2 separate regions of the Homo sapiens genome follow, and region 2 is linked to region 1. The links are contacts of gene promoters, found by promoter capture Hi-C in human tissues and cell types (Jung and others, 2019). All regions are on one chromosome and are shown on one strand. The core of a region is centred on a gene start or on the middle of the fragment in contact, and the rest is flanking DNA. Distances in the headings are between cores, read along the strand shown.

Region 1 (3,133 bases), core at 408-2,907:
CCAAGGCTACGGGATCTGAGATCCAGGAGAGCAATGGAGAGAGCCGTGGAGTCTTGAACAGCTTCACTGAAGACCAAGACGGACTCTCTGCTATTACCATAAATGATGAAGTCTGTCAAGCGGTCTGCTAAGACTGAATGAAGACTGACGCCTGTTTCACTTCCCCACCAAGCAGGAGACCAGCCAAGCTGGGGGAGATCCCTTTTTAAATTCATGGCACCTTTGAAAATATTTTACGGTGACTATCAAAATGTCTTTATTCTGCACCTCATGACATCTTGCATTAGAGCTACGTCGACCTCAACACCACAGCACATACTTGTAACTGTTTTTTTGTTTGTTTGTTTTGTTTTGTTTTGTTTCTTTCTCACAACCCTTTACATGGCTGTTTTCCCACTAATCGTGCCACTTCCACGGCCGGGATATAAAACCATTTTACAACAGTTATTCTCCCATGTTTTTCCTTCATTTTATAGACAGCTGAATCCCAGGATCGAAGCTGTTTCAGCAGACAACTGTTGGGAGCACACAAGATCTATTTCAGCTCAAGAAAGGCCAAGGACAAAGACAAGACAAAAGTTGTGGGTTAAAGGGCAGACTTTGCGCAGAGCACCGGTAGAGGAGCGGACAGTGTGATGCGTGGTCCACTGCAAACCATTTCTTCCACAGCAGCAGCTCTGCAAAAGGGACCTCTGAGGAAGAATTCCCTGTCTTCCCAGTGAGTGGTCATTTTAGGAGAACAAGTCCCCTACTAGCCCATAGCTGGAGGGCCAACACTTTTTCTCTCCCTGAAGTTCCCGGCACCTGTTCTGAAAGGGGGTTGAAGAGCTCTCTACTCGGGCCATCCCGCCTGCTCTCTGGATGGAGAACATACGGACAACTGTGTGTTAAGCAGTCCCCTTGAATCCTTCAGCAAGCCAAGGAGTATACAGGTGGTCACCTGCACAGGTGCCGGGTCTACCACCACAACTTTATCCCTGGCCTTGGGGGCTGATGGAGAGTAAGACTCCCCACCACCGCCACCAGCAGTACCTCCAGCTCGCGAGTAAGCAGCGCACAGGCGGGCACAGGTAAATGTTCCCAGGGCGGCCAGACGCCTAAGCCTGCTGGCTGCTGGCGCTCAGGGTCCCCACCTCCATGCCTCTGCGTGGGGCAGGGGGAGTCCTCGTGCCTGGCATCCCACTCCCCCCGCCAACCCAGCCCGCTTATCCTGGGGCTCCGGCCGGGCCGCCCGAAGGAGCCCCGCGCCCAGCCCCGGGAGCCCCGAGCCGCCGGAGCCGCAGCGCCCACTCGGGGCAGGCAGCGTGCACTCACCCTTCTGCTCTCGCAGGCTCGACAGCGACCAGAGCAGCAGCGCCACCGAGGCCAGGAAGCAGAGCTGGCTCAGCAGAAGGTCCCTCCGGCGGCGGCGGCGGCGGCGGCGACGCGCGCGGTCCTCGTCGCCGGACGGCCGCATCCTCGGGCGGCCGGGCGGCGGCCTCGGCGGGCGGCGGCCGCTCCTGTCGCGGGCGGCCGCGGCGGGGACAGCGGCAGGAGGCAGCCCTGCGCGCAGCAGCCGCGCGTCCTCGCTGCGCTCCCACCCGGCCGCCGCCTCCGCCTCCTCTTCCTCCTCCTCGCCGCTGCCCGTCTCCTCGTCGTCGCCCTCCTCGTCGCTATCGCCCAGTCCCTCCTCCCCTCCCTCCTCCTCCTCCTCGCCGCTCGCCCGCGCCGCCGCCTCCCGGCGCTCGGGGTCCCGCTCCTCCTCGCGCGCCATGGCTCCCACGCTCCGCGCCCGCGCTCGGCCTGGGGCGGCGGCGCGGCGGGGGCGGCGGGGGCGGCCGGGAGGCGGGGGCGGAGGGGGCAGAGGAGGAGGAGCGGGGAAGGACCGACGGTAGGAGGGCCCGCCGCTGGCCAACTCCGCCGGTTGGCAAAGCCACCCCGGACTGGCTCTGGCCTCGCCGGCTGCAGGAGCGCCTCGCGGGGCCGCCCGCCTATTCCATGGTCGGCGCGATGGGGGCCGGGGCCGGGCCGGAGCGAACAGGGAGCACCGAGCGAGCTGGGAGCATGAGCTAGCGCAGCTCCCGGCAGCCTGCAGCGGCGAGGCTGGTCGGGCCAGGGTTGGCGGGGGGCAGTGCCTGGGACACAGCCCGGCGCTGGCCGGCATGGCGGGGAGGGGGCGCGCTGGGAGGAGACTGGGCTGGGGAGGGATCCCTGTGTGCAGTCCTTCAACCCTTCTGTGCCAGGGGAAGAGGGACGGCGCAGGGGGCCCCCTCTCGGGAAGCACACACGCTGCCTCCCAGAGGCCGATCTTCACCAAGAAGGATTCGCTGGAAACTTTCGGAAAACCGAGGGGCTCTTCAGCCTCCTCTCTACGTGCTACCTGGAGTCGGGGCGCCGCGAGTGCGCTTGGCTGCCCGCGCCCAGCCTCTGGCCTCGCCTCTTCTCGCGGGCCTCCCGGGTTTCCCTCTGCCCCCTTGCGGGGATCCCCCTGTGCGCCCGACTCGGGATCTGGAACAGGCCTCCCCAGAGGCTGTTAGTTCCATAAGGGTGTCCGGCTCCCCCCTCTGTCTTGGGCTCACACTTCGCTTTCTGTTCGTGCTGGACCAAGTCCAATACTGTGGCTGATCGAAGTGGGGACAGCTGGCACGGTCCCTGGAGAGGCGGCCTGAAGAGGCTTCTGGCCTTGTGCAGGTAACACCAGCCTGCCCTACCTCCAACGTTAGAATCTTAGTCCTCCCATTTCCCCCATTCTAGGTCTCCTGCCCCTCCTTGCTGAAGGTGTGGGCTGCCCTAGAGATGGCTGGACTCACGACCTGCCGCAGGTGCCCATTTGGAGGGGATCCCTGGCCATCCCAGACACAGCCCACTCTCCCTCATTGGGCTTCCCTGGACTCTTCCCAGATGCTAGCCTGGGGCTGCTGGCTGGGCTGAGGAGGAGATGCCATTGTTGGGGCGGAGGGTGGGGGGGCGCTGAAAACAAAAGACCTTGTCCAGAAAGGGATCACCTGAAACCAGGTGTCTGTCTAGGTGACTGTCTCCATGGAATCCATTCAGATCAGGGAATCTAGCTTCATACCCTAAGGAGGTGGGAAGGAAGCAGAGAACCTCTGTATAAGGCTCCCCTGTCTAGGTCTGTTCAAATGTGTCCCCACCT
Region 2 (3,133 bases), core at 470-2,969, 98 kb before region 1:
GGGCAGTGATCTACCTCTGAGTTTATTGTTCTTATATTAGAGGCTCATTTCCTGTGTTTGAAACATGAAGTAGAACAAGAGCAGCGAATGGATTCATAGTTATTCATGACCCACAACAGAGGAAAGAGGAAGGGCGCATGGGAAGGAAACCCTCATGCTACACACACAGCACCGGCAGCCATGTTTCTCAGTGGGCCTCGATCCCATCAGGAGACTGCATCCCTATTTCCTCCAGGCCACCCTTTGGGAAGATGTATTTAATGAGTGTGGAAAGTAAGTGTGGCAGATGAATTCCCTGCTGGCCATAGGGGAAAAAAGAGAGCTGCATACTGTTGTTACTAACAGGCTATCTTGACTTCATGGCTTCCACCTCCTCAAATGAGTACCATCATCCTCCCTGGTGAAATCTGATCTAACTGTTTTCCTTTGGGGACACTTGTTGACTCAAACACTGCCTCCTCCTGGAAGCCTTCCTTTACCCCACACCTCCCAGGATGGGAGGCCCCATCCTGGCCCTCTGTGGGGGCCAACGTGCACACCTGTAGTACAGCATTGATCACTCTGAGTGGATGTAGCTGGATTCCTCTCCCCACTACCTTCCGCATGTGATCCCTGAGGGCTGGGACTGTATCTCTTCTTTCTCCAAACCTTCCCACCATTAGCAGAATGCCTGGACCAGCATGAAAGCTGAAGGAGCATGGGGCTGTTGAGTGACCTCATCCTGATTTCCTGTGTGGGGCCCTGGAATGATCCACCACATACAGAGAACCCATCCGCGGGCCCTGCTGGCCAAAAGTTGCTGACTGCAAGCCTGGGGTTCTCTTGAAGCCTTGAGCCTTTGAACATGAGGTTTAGGTTCATGCCCAAATTCCTCGCAAATCTGAACTCAAGTCTCTACACACATATGAGTAACCAAAACCCAAGCTCCAGTGACCCCAAACTGTGCTTCTCCACTAAAGGAAGAAAGGAAGGAAAAAATGAAGGGAAGGCAAGGAAGGAAAAAAGGAAGGGAAGGCAAGAAGGAAGGAAGGAAAGGGAAGGAAAGGGAAGGAGGGATGGAAGCAAGGAAGGAAGAAAGGAACGAAGGAAGATTACATAGAGGGGGAATAAAAAAGAAATGAAAAGCTTTCAGAAAGACTCCAGCAAAGCAAATAAACATGATTATAAGCTCAAAAAAGGCTTTATTTCAGATTTAAAGCATGCTGGCTGTCCTTGGAGCTTGTCTTTAGACCTTTCCCCCAAAAGTTGAATGTGGCTAAAGAAACAGGTAGTGCAAGAAGGGAGCATGTCCATACACAACATCTGGAAAGTATGACTCCAAAGTGAGGTTATGTAACTGGAAGCTGAAGGCAGCATCAAGCTCTGTTTATATGCTTGCTGCCCTGAATGACTGCAGCACAGATAATGACTGTCTCAGCAAGGCTTCATAGGCTGCAGACATCTATGAGGAAGAACAGTGGCTGGAGCAGTAAGTTTCCTTCCCAGGTAGCCGCAGGTCAGTCCTGAAGCAACCCGGACCTTCCAGAGAACTGGCCTGGACCAGAGAATAGACAGTCCTCATGGAATTCCTGCCCTGATATTGAGCTTCTCATTTCTCAAGCTCTCATTCAGAGCCTTATTGATTTTTATTTCATACACCAGGTTTAAAAATGGAAGAGAAAATTAATATTTACTGAACATACACTAGCTCAGCACTTGTCCAAGTCTTCTGTGCACATGACCACCTGGGAACTTTTGAAATTCATGGTCAGACTCAGTGCATTTTCCTGGTGGGGGCTGAGCTTCTGTGTGGCCAATAAGCTCTCAGTCTTGCTGATGCCTCTGGGCCTGAGGCCACACTCTGAGTAGCAAGGGTTTAGAATGTGGCAGAAACATGTTAGAAGGGGTAATGTGAAAGCAAGGGTCTATCGGTTCAAGAAAATGAAAAATCAGTTATTAGATGTCATGACACCTAGGTGAAGTAGCCAGAAGATGGAATGAACTCCACGAAGACACCAGGCACCATCTCCCAGGGCTGCCTCCAATGTCAAGTCCGGCTCTGCTCAGGCCCATTGTGCCTGCTGGACTCTTTTCACTGTGCAGGATGGGGACTCAGGCTGGTCGGACACTGATAGCAGGAAGAGTGTGATGCTTTGCCGCCCTGACCTGTCCCAATGACCCAGAGTCACTCCTGGGGCGTGAAAGCTTGGAGCACAGACTGGAAGCCCAGCTCTCCCAGGGTGCAAGGAGGAGTCCCTTGTCTTCACATTCCCCCAAATGATGATTCTATGTTGGTATGTGGATGGGTAAGAAATGAACAATAAAGGGCCATCTCAAATTAAGCTGCCACACAGAGAAGAAGCTTGCAAAAAGTTCCAACTCTCTTTTTGAAGGCCACTTCTCATGATGCTTAGAACCCCTCATCCTTCCAGAAAACTGAAGCTTTGACAAACTAAAGTTAACATCTTGTTATCCCTCCCAAAGAGGAGAAAAAATAGAAGCTCTAGGCCAGCGTTTTCCAAAATTCAGTGTGCATAGGTACCACCTGGGGAGCTAGTTAATATGCAGATTCTGATTCCATAGGTCTGGTAGGTTTGGGTGGAGTATGAGATTCTACATTTCTAACAAGCTTCCAAGAGGTGTTGACACTTCCAGGCTGGTCCCTGGACCACACTGAGTAGCAGAAGGCAAGAGAACATGCTAACCACCTGGTTTGGCCCTTAATATACATTAGCTAATTTAATGAACTGGTAATGTCATCAGGTCAAGCACAGATCCTTTATCTGATAGATGAGGAAGCCCATATTCAGTGAAGTTAGGAAAGCTGATCAAGTTCTGCAGCAAGAAAATGAGAGGAACTGGATTTCAAGTCTGATCTGCCTGACACTAAAGTTTATGTTCTAACCATAGATCTGCTGTCGGGATGAAACTTTAGAAGATCTGAGGGTGTGAAAGTTTTAAAGGTAGACAAACCTAGGAAGTAGTGGAAGTGACAGTGGACACAGTGACAACAAAAAAGGAGGCCCTGGTCTGAATTACAAGACGGTAAAATAACATATGTCCTCCACGAATCCATGGCTTCAATTTATCACTAGAATGTCCAATCCACATTCCGTGCACTGTGACTCACAGACAAGAACGTATTAAATTTACT

The links. The method cuts DNA at HindIII sites, captures the fragments that hold promoters and counts their contacts. A contact is called where the count stands out against the background at its distance.
Region 2: a contact is called between a fragment that was not itself captured here and the fragment with the promoter of SLC24A3 in region 1, in 2 of the 25 tissues and cell types used here (bladder and pancreas).

The regions. Positions count from the first base shown.
Region 1 is chr20:19,211,166-19,214,298 of GRCh38, reverse strand. It overlaps SLC24A3 (solute carrier family 24 member 3), which reads right to left and starts at 1,657. Exons shown (of 17, transcript NM_020689.4): 1 at 1,315-1,657. The coding sequence starts at 1,456. LOC101929547 (a long non-coding RNA gene) reads left to right here and starts at 1,831. Exons shown (of 3, transcript XR_007067549.1): 1 at 1,831-2,670. RefSeq lists a silencer at 1,257-1,306. The HindIII fragment of the contact is 12,474 bases long and covers 1-3,133 here.
Region 2 is chr20:19,308,941-19,312,073 of GRCh38, reverse strand. All of the region lies in intron 2 of SLC24A3 (solute carrier family 24 member 3), which reads right to left. Among named protein-coding and RNA genes, the nearest start is that of SLC24A3-AS1, 26 kb to the right of the region's middle. The HindIII fragment of the contact is 4,933 bases long and covers 1-3,133 here.